Regions from separate parts of the Homo sapiens genome. Here regions 1 and 3 are each linked to region 2. The links are contacts of gene promoters, found by promoter capture Hi-C in human tissues and cell types (Jung and others, 2019). All regions are on one chromosome and are shown on one strand. Each heading gives the region's core, a stretch centred on a gene start or on the middle of the fragment in contact. The rest is flanking DNA. Distances are from core to core; before and after follow the strand shown.

Region 1 (3,164 bases), core at 78-2,577, 180 kb before region 2:
TTTAAAATCACAAAGCTATTAACTTGATCCAAATCATCAATATATTTAATTAATGAGGTTTCAGATAAAATCTCAACAAGATTTCTCTCTCAGAACTCTACGCACTTATTCTAAACTCCATTTGAATATGCAAACAACAAAGATCAGCAAAGATAATTCTGAGGGGAGGGGAAAAAATGAGCTAGAACTTGACTACCTATCCATGAAAACAGTTTAAAGTCATAAAATTAAAAGAATGATATTGGAGCAGAGAAAAAGTCAAGTTAATGAAATAAAATTTGAAGCCCTTAAATAAGCTGAAACACATATGAGCCTGGTGTATGACAGAGGTGGCATTATAAATCAGTGGGAAGGAAAAAAGTGCAGTAAATGACCTGGTTTCCCATTCGGAACTCACTTTATAGACAAAAATAACTAAATAAAACTGCAAATGGGATTTTTTAATTAGAAGAGAATGTAGGATAACAATTTTTGACTAAGAGATAAAAATCAAATTTCTTAGAAAACTCTCAAACACTAGCAATTTATAGGAAAGCATTGATAAAACCAAGTGCATCAAAATTAAGATTTTCCCCATTACGAAGCACACCATGAAACATACTTAAAAAAATGGCAGGCTTAGAAAATATGTCTGTAACGTGTAAAACAAACACACGTGTAAAACAAACACAGATTATCTTGAATAGGTAGAGAAATTATGTATCAGTTTAAACGAACCAACAATATAACACAGAAGTTGGCAATTGATGGGAACAGGCAATTCAGAAGAGCCAGTGAACATATGAATAGATTATTATCCTCACTAGAAATAAAGGAAATGCAAATTAAAACAACAGTGAAGCATTTTACACCAAATAGTTTGACAAGCATTAAAGAGTCTGTCAATAGCAACTGTTGGTAAAGACATGAGAAAACTGAACTTTCCTACCCTGCTGGTGGGAGTCTAAATTAGTACAATCACTTTGGAGAGCAATTTGACTGTAGATCGTGAAATTGTTAAAATGTGCATGCCCAATGACTTCTCATTCTACTTCAGAGAAATGCCTGCACATAAACCAGAATGTTCATTATAGCAGTGTCTGTTTACAATGAAGAAAAATTGGAAACAATCTTTATGTCCTTCAGTGGAGAAAGAATGAGTAAATAAATTGTAATATATTCATGGAATTTACAATAACAAAAATCAAAATGAATTAATTAGATCTATGTGTAAAGACATGAATGGATATCAAAAATGCAATCTTGAGTAACAAAGGGGAAACAAGTTGTTAAAAACTGTAGTATGAAATAGTTCTGTAAATAGGTAAGAAATAGCAACCATATGTATTATTAGTGGATATATCTCATAATAAACATAGAAAATGGGGGCTGCAATGATACACAATAAAATTCATATTGGTGATTGCCTTTAGAGAAGGGGGAATGATATTAGGGATAAGAGCTTCCATGTTATCTGTAATACTTTAGATTTTTAAAATAAATAAGTTGCATGATGAAATACATTTTTTAAATTATAGTTAGGAGAAGGAGTCCAGGAGAAAAATCTGACACTGCCACTAAAAGGTAAGCAACAGGAGGAAGTGAGATTTGGTGTTTGTTTATTTTTCCATCTGTTCTCATATTATACAAGGCATATAATTACCATTGGTTCTCCTCACACATTTGCTGATTTAGGGATAAAGAGAAATGAAGAGATAAATTAGATATTATCCAAGTTTCCAAGAAGCTCAAAAGACATCAGAGTAGTAGACATAAGATATTACATACATGCACACATGCGCACGCACACACACACACGCACACTATGCATGACCACATCACTAAGTTCCTGCAAACCACAGAGCTTAAGTTATTCAGAGGCTACAGGGAAATCACTTTGTCCCTTCAATCTGAGACCCTTTTGCATGCCTGCTGAATTTTTAAGCTAGCACCATCCAAGGCAAATTGAGACGTCAAATCACCCTACTAGCTTGTCTACCATAGTCTGTCTAAACGTTCTCCATAGCTTTATCTAATCCTTCACTCTGAAAATACTTAAAGAACTTACCAGGCTCTGTACTAGATAAGAGACTACTCCTACTCTCTCTCTCTCTCTCATTCCCCAAAATAGCCCTATGTGGTCAATATTTTAACCTTATTTTATAGTTAAGAAAATTACAATGTACGCAGTTGAAATATCCAAAGTTACAGTTTGTAATTTGTGTAATTGGAATTCAAACTCAGGTTTGAATTACCCCAAAGTTAAGCTCTTTCTGCTGTAAAAGGATCTGGAAATGCAGTTGCTGAATCAGTTTCCTCAGCCACCACTTTATTCAGAGCTGCATCCCAAACACCATAGAAAAATAAAAGATAAATAGGTTTGAGTCCTTGCTGTAGCTCCCAGCTTGGGATCCAGCAGCGGGTTTACCTCATCAGTGATCTAAGAACTCGCTATAGACCAGGAGGTTATAATTAAGCCATCCTACAGTTCCTCCCAGCTGAACAAGCCTGCTGCCTTTCATCTGTGCACATAAGTCTTATATTCCAGGCCTTTACAGTTCCCACCAGATTTCCACATCCCTTTTGGGTTTGGGAGCCAAGAATTGATCACAGCCTTGCAGTGAGAGGAAGACCTGTGCTGTTTCACTCCAGGCAAATGCACTTATGTGTGGTGTAAGGGGATCCTCTTCTTGGTCCAGCCTGGAGATTTCAGTGTAATTAATGCTGTTTGTAGGTTGTAAGAAGTAACACCTAAGCCTCTCTGTTGATGGCCAAGCCATTACTAATTTTTCAGATGTGTTGATGACTTTTCCCCATGTGTCTACATGCCATGTCTGCTGAGCTCATCCATAGCAGGAAGTGGGATCAGTGGAAGTACCAAGAGAGAAGATAAGTAACATGTCCTCCCGGCACATGTGGAAGATAAATGCTCAATTCTTGGATGTGTTCTGTCTACTAAAACTTTAAGTTTAGGGAAGGCCTTTTAAAAAATGCATTTACCACCACACTTGGAACAAAATCACTAACCCTCCATCCCAATGAGCTACAGAAGTGGTTTATTATACAATATCCTGGTGGGAAATCAACCATATGTCTTTGGGAAGGAAAAACATGGCAGGGAGTTGCCTTGGTGCCAATTATGTGAAGGGTAATACTCTTGGCTTTTTCTGCCTGCCCAATCCGTG
Region 2 (3,237 bases), core at 502-3,001:
AGCACAGAATTTAAAACTTCCCAAACAACCAACATTTGAATCAGCCAAAATGGATCAAAAGTTCAAATGAGCGGTTTTATGACATGACTATTTATGGGCTTTCTTGCTGTCTGGGAGGGTCACTTTAGCAGAGAATCCTAAAATACTACAGCCAAAGCAACCGTAGGATGACCTAATCGTGTCTTGCTTTTTTTTTCAGATGGGGAAACTGAGGCCCACAGCAACAATAATAACTGTGGGGATGATATCATTTAATATTGAAAATAAGTGGATAATTGAGACCTCCATTATTAGTAGTTAATTTTTAAAAATCAAAGATCTCTCCTAATTAGCTTTATGGAGCAAATAAATATATTTTCCATATTCAAATATGGCTGTGATTTCTACACAAATGGTGTTAACAATCTAATACAGCATAAAACATTGTTTAAATATCATCATACCCTATTCCTAAACAGTAACGTGTAATAGATCTCTGGAGCCCAGTGTTGTAATATAAACACTTCCCAGGTGTATTCCCTTGGTAAAGTTTCATTACTTCTCTAAACGTCAGTTTTCTTGTGTAAAAAAGAGACACTTGTGTCTATCCTACTTACTGGTTACAAGGATATAATAAAAATAGTGAACAAAAATAGTGTTCATAAAGTACCCTGCACAGCACCTGATTATAGACTTAATAAGGGAGGGCTCAATGGTAGTTGCGTTTTGAATTACATTTAATGCTTCATTTTACTTCACTGTCACAAACTACTATGCTCTGCGGCAGGCTCAGAAGTCTCTAGGCACGGGTGAAGTGCTACTTCTCCACTCCCTTAAATGCCCCTGTATGCCCTGAGGATACTCAATGCATGCTAACCACCAAACGAACGGATGACTCAGAGCTTGGAGGAAATCCACGGCAGGCTGGAAAGCAAAGGCGCAGCTTATGGCTCAAGGATTAGGTTGTTACCTTTTTAAATTATTGCTTTTCTTTAAAGAAAGGGCTGTGGGGGACGCCTTTCAGCACTAAGAGAAAACCTCAGAAATCCTTCCCCCTGGAGACCCAGCTGAGAAGACCACACCAGGCACAGGGCATGAACAATGTCAAAAAGCTACTGCCCTGCAGGACACTGGGGCTGGAACAAAGATGCCTCCCAGCAGCTGGGCAAGGCTGGCTCCCACACAAGAAAAGCAGGGCTGATGTGAGCGTCCCGCACGATCCCCACCTGCTGAGACCTAATCCTGGGTTATCTCTCCGCTGGCCCAGAGAAACCTGAAACCCCCCAGGCTTTTGAAGGGCTTTATCTCCTCTTTCCAGGAACTGGGCTCAGTCCCTGTACTCGCTCCGAGGTGCCACTGAGCAGCTGCTGCCCAGAGCCCAGGCGAGCCCTGGTCCCATTTCCAGCTTGACCAAGTACAAGAGGGGAGCCAGGGCTGCGGATCCTACTCCCTCTTGCTCCCCAGGCATCCGTCTCACAATTAGAAAACCCGTGTGGGGAGCAAAGCAAAAATCACATTTCACTAACAGCTACTCGGGGTCGGGGGCGGGCAGGCGGGAATTCCTACTTTCGCCATAAATTGTATGCAAATGGGTTCCTTCCCTGGCCGAGAGCCAGGAGTGAGTGCGTCTTTCATGAGCTAACCCTGTTCCGCTGGGAGGGCTGTTCCTTTAATTCGCCAACTGAAAAAGTGGGAAAGGATGTCTGGAGGCGAGGCGTCCCATTACAGAGGAAGGAGCTCGCTATATAAGCCAGCCAAAGTTGGCTGCACCGGCCACAGCCTGCCTACTGTCACCCGCCTCTCCCGCGCGCAGATACACGCCCCCGCCTCCGTGGGCACAAAGGCAGCGCTGCTGGGGAACTCGGGGGAACGCGCACGTGGGAACCGCCGCAGCTCCACACTCCAGGTACTTCTTCCAAGGACCTAGGTCTCTCGCCCATCGGAAAGGTAAGTCTGTTTTGCCCTCATCACTAGAGATCCTTATGATGTAAGGATTGCATTCCTGGTACCAAATGAGTTGTGATTTTATATTATAATTACAAAACATATGGGGTTTTTTTTTCCACCGCTGGAAAAAAAAGGAGTGTGTATTGGTTATATCAGATGCACCTTGACTTTTCTGGTCTTGTAATTTTGTTTGTTTTAACTTTATGAATAGTCAGACTTGGAAGGAACTTTTCGTAAAGTTGTTATCTTCTGCTGTTCTGCAGAGGAAAAGTAAAAATTTTCTCTTCAACTGCTCTCCTACTTCTAGTCTGGCTGATTCACCTGTATATATCTTTTATTTTGAGGGTTAGGGCAGTAGAGTTTTAAGGCAGACTTTGCTCATAGCCTGCCCCTGGGATGGGTTAGAGGGAGTTTGATAGAGGAGTGCAGGGAGAATATAAAAGTTTATATCTAAACAGCACTTACATAAAGTTTACAAAGAGTTTTGTACCCATTCCCTCATTTGGTCCTCAAAATATTCACCCTGGAAATGAGAGCTGGGGGACAGAAGAGAGGAGGTGGCTCCTGGGCCAGATGAATAACTGACAGGCAGCTAGAGAGTGGTGGAGAACAGCTTTACTGGGGTGCCTAGAGCCAGCAGCGTCCCACATGTCTCTAGAATCACCTCCTCCTCCTCACCTCTCATCACAGAAAGATCTGAGCAACAACATCCCCCAGGTATGGGAACCCTGCTGCCCCTGGTGTACTTTGGAAAGAACACAGGGGTTCTTCTCACCCATCAGTGTTGTAAGAGGAATAAGAGCTTAGGTTTGAAGCCAGAGGTGTTTGGTATTCTCCCCACCACCATACATATGACCCTGAGAAAGATACATCACTTCCTTAATCCTCAGTTTTCACATCTCTAAAATGGGGACAATAGCGTCTGCTGTCGTTTTGAGGAGAAAATGAGGTATAGAAAGATCAGCAATGACTGCTTAATAACTGGAAGTTTGGATAATCATTGTCATTGCCAAAAACTGCCATCACTCTGGAAGTTAAAAGAGGCATTGAGCCAGTCTTGGATTGTTTCTTGTGTGTTGTTCCTCAGCCCGCCCCCAGCCCCCGCTTTTTATCTCACCCAATCTGAGGGTGTCTCACTAGGCTGGCAGGTCTGAGACTTGGCTGTATTTTACAAGCAGGAGGTTGTGTTGGCACAGGTTGGAGAAAAGGTAGTAGCCCGGGGCTGGAAGTTAATGTCAAATTTTGATTCCAGAATGTCAGGAGGTTTTGAGTTTAGGCATCTGCAGATTCTAAAGCTGACAGCTATGAAGT
Region 3 (3,387 bases), core at 362-2,861, 220 kb before region 2:
TTGAGTGCTTCACAATCCCCATGTTAAGAATTGATCACAGTGCCCATGTAAATTGCATTGCTCTGCTTCCAGCTAGAGAAAAGCATGTGAGGAAGGTCTAGAGGCTGCACCTGTACATTTAATCAGCTTCCTTTAGTGAAAGATGATCATTTTGAAAGACATATTTTGTATTCTGTGTTTAAACTAGGACTTGAAAGAGGAGAAAATTGACCTATAGTTAGTTCATTATGCCCTGCTCTTTGCTAGTTCTCTTCTTTGAACAAACCCCACTACTCATATCACTTAGAGATTATGACTCTTTAAATCCTCTAAGAGCTCCTCCAGTGCCTAGCACAAGGTGTACCACCCAGTACACTCAAACAATGGGAAATCAAATGAAATAATTCCAGAAATTTACTGTGCAAAACAAATCCCACCTTTGCAAAGCTAAAGCTCATCTTTCTCCGAAACCTCTCTCTCACTCCTTACAGTTTCTCCATGCAGGTTCCCTCTTTCTGGAGATAAACTGAACAGAGGAATCTTGTTTGCTATATTTTTTGCAGGCAGCATCATGTGAAATAGGCACAGTGAAATGATTTCAACTGCAGCCCTTATTTTTCCATTTTTGTTCAAGACTCGAGAGTCCAGCTTGCCCAGGCCTGAAGCAAGAATGAAAAATTAAGTAAAAAGTTTAAAATCATGATGCTCAGAATCTCCATCCCAGGCCTGGAGGCAGCTCCTGGAAAATATGTGTCACATTTTTAAGCAAGACTCTCTGCTCCCTCCTTTTTCTTTCCTCCAAGACTCTGGAGCAAGCTTTGGGTGGGGCTCCTCTTCTCCCTAGAGGAACAGGCTGCTATTTTGGGGAATCTGATTGGGTTTCATGTTAACTGGAAACTTTGCCGCAAGGAGTGGCTCAAGGTCAAGAGAGACAGCTTCCACTTTGCTGTGTATTAGAAAGACTACCCATACGCAGGTGCTTTGGCATCAAGAAACCTGATTTAAATCTCAAATCCTGGGTCTGCACTTTCTAGCCATTTGACCTGAGTCAAATTACTTAAGTTGTCTGAGCTTCCATTTTTCTCATCTGTAAAATGGGTTTAATAAAATCTGTATCAGATAATCATATACACATGACAATTAGCATAGTTTCTACCAAAGAAGTACTCAATAAATGCTAAGTCATATGCAAAAACACACACTCTCTTCCTCCCTCCCTTTCTCTGTCTCTCTCTCTCTCACACACACACACACACACATGCACACACACATACATGTATGACCATCATTCACTTGGTACCAGCTGTGTCCTTGAGCCAACTCTATGAATTGGTTTTTAGGACAATTATTTTGCAGATGCAAATGATAAAAGTGAGACACAGCAATGTCAAGTAACCTGCCTGAGGTGGCATAATCAGGAAGTGAAGCAGTGAAACTCATATTTGAACTCAGATCTCTGATTCCAAAGCCCGTGTTCTTAAATGGTCTGACTGCTTCATTTCAAATCATTCACCCAACATATCCCAAATTATCTTCTCAACCCAAACCAAAGTACCCAAAGTGCCCTTACCTCAGGTTGATAAAGGGGCATTGCAAGAAAAATCACACATTGACCAAACCTCTTCTCACCACACACCTCCCTTCTCTGTTCCTCTGCAGGGGTAGCACTCTAAGTCCTCATCAGCTGTCTCTTTAATAAAAACTAAAGAGGACAGAGGATGAGGTCTGCGTTAGGTGCCCAGGAAGAAATGGTGCCAGGATAGTAGAGGGGCTTGGAAGGGAGGCAAGGACCATGAAAAAATTGAGGACCGAGGGCAGGTCCCCCTGTCCCCCTGCTGTTACTGGGCCACCTTAGGATCTGGGACTGTCGGCAGCTAAGCAGGCAAGACCAGGGCCCTCCCTGTCTGTCTCTGAGGTCATTCCCCAAGCACTCCACAGCCCTGACTTGCCAGGGATTAGCCCTGTCTGTAAGGGAGGTGCTGCCCCTGCCTGGCTCTGTGTCCTCTGGTTCCAGACTTCGAGCCAGTCCTAGAACCGACTAAGTTGCCCACTCCTTGCAACTCCTTCCACACTAGGTATGGACCCATTCTGTCTATTTATCTATTTGCGTCCATACAGAGAATCAATTTTATCTGCATATCCCTGGCACATAGCAGAGTCGGTGCTTAGTAAATGCCTATCTGTCTGAAGGACATCAAGGTATGGAGAAAAATGTCTTCAGAATTAAAAACATGGATTTAAATGCTAACCCTGGCCAGGCGCGGTGGCTCACACCTGTAATCCCAGCACTTTGGGAGGCTGAGGTGGGCAGATCATGAGGTCAGGAGATCGAGACCCTCCTGGCTAACATGGTGAAACTCTGTCCCTACTAAAAATACAAAAAAATTAGCCAGGCGTGGTGGCGGGCGCCTGGAGTCCCAACTACTCGGGAGGCTGAGGCAGGAGAATGGCGTGAACCCAGAAGGCGCAGCTTGCAGTGAGCCGAGATCGTGCCACTGCACTCCAGCCTGGGTGACAGAGCGAGACTCCATCTCAAAAAGAAAAAAAAAAAATGCTAACCCTCCCACTCAGTCTCTGTGACACCTTGGGTCATTACAATGTCTCCATGGGCCTTTTTCTTTTTTTTTTCATTTGCAATTGGAACTGATAATTCTTCCAATTCAATACTGCTGGGTGGATCATGTGAGATAATGCAAGTGAGAGAAGCTCATAAACTGTAAAGTGCTTACCAATGAGTAATTCTCAGGAAGACCAAGTGTCTAATGTCCCATGATTGGAGCAGCTATCCTGATCAGAGACTCATTTTACAGGTGCATGTGTGTCTTGAACATTTGTCTTATGCTTTCTGTGTGCTTAGAAGTGGTTCCTTACATCATTATTATAGTACACTGCATTTATCCATCATTCATTCATTGATTCGTTTGTATTATTTCATTCAGAATATGTTTATAACTTGGTATTTTCCAGGTTCTGTGATAAGTTCAAAAGATACCACAGTGAGGAAAGCAGACATGGATTTTGTCTCTTGGTGCTTATGGACTAATGGGAGAGAAGGGCATTATATAGATAGTAATTCAAATATTTTATTATAGTTGTGATAGTGCAAAAAGTGAAAGATACAGAAAATCAGAGCAGTATATAACAGAGCATAAACTGTGTGTGTGTGTGTGTGTGTGTGTGTGTGTGTGTATTTTCATGGTAGTGAGGTGGAGAGTCAATGCTTAAAAATAGTGAATACTTTCCTTAGAACATGTCAATTAAACACAGCCTAAATAATGAGTAGGACATCAGCAGGTTAAATGTCTGTGTCTTGTGTGTGCAGAGGGTGTTCATGGGTGGGGGTAGTTAGACACAAGCCTTTCAGAAAGAGATCAATTGGCAGCAAGATGACCACCAGGTAGGAAAGAG

Evidence for each region. The method cuts DNA at HindIII sites, captures the fragments that hold promoters and counts their contacts. A contact is called where the count stands out against the background at its distance.
Region 1: a fragment that was not itself captured here is called in contact with the fragment with the promoter of TNC in region 2 in 1 of the 25 tissues and cell types used here (mesenchymal stem cells).
Region 3: a contact is called between a fragment that was not itself captured here and the fragment with the promoter of TNC in region 2, in 2 of the 25 tissues and cell types used here (aorta and mesenchymal stem cells).

What each region holds. Positions count from the first base shown.
Region 1 is chr9:115,300,436-115,303,599 of GRCh38, reverse strand. The region is part of intron 3 of DELEC1 (deleted in esophageal cancer 1); the gene reads right to left. Among named protein-coding and RNA genes, the nearest start is that of DELEC1, 160 kb to the right of the region's middle. The HindIII fragment of the contact is 3,347 bases long and covers 1-3,000 here.
Region 2 is chr9:115,116,671-115,119,907 of GRCh38, reverse strand. TNC (tenascin C) reads left to right here and starts at 1,751. Exons shown (of 28, transcript NM_002160.4): 1 at 1,751-1,926. All of the region lies in intron 2 of LOC124902255 (a long non-coding RNA gene), which reads right to left. LOC101928748 (a long non-coding RNA gene) reads left to right here. Exons shown (of 6, transcript NR_110950.1): 6 at 200-369. RefSeq lists an enhancer at 653-1,472. The HindIII fragment of the contact is 7,931 bases long and covers 1-3,237 here.
Region 3 is chr9:115,339,009-115,342,395 of GRCh38, reverse strand. The region is part of intron 4 of DELEC1 (deleted in esophageal cancer 1); the gene reads right to left. Among named protein-coding and RNA genes, the nearest start is that of DELEC1, 200 kb to the right of the region's middle. The HindIII fragment of the contact is 5,724 bases long and covers 1-3,387 here.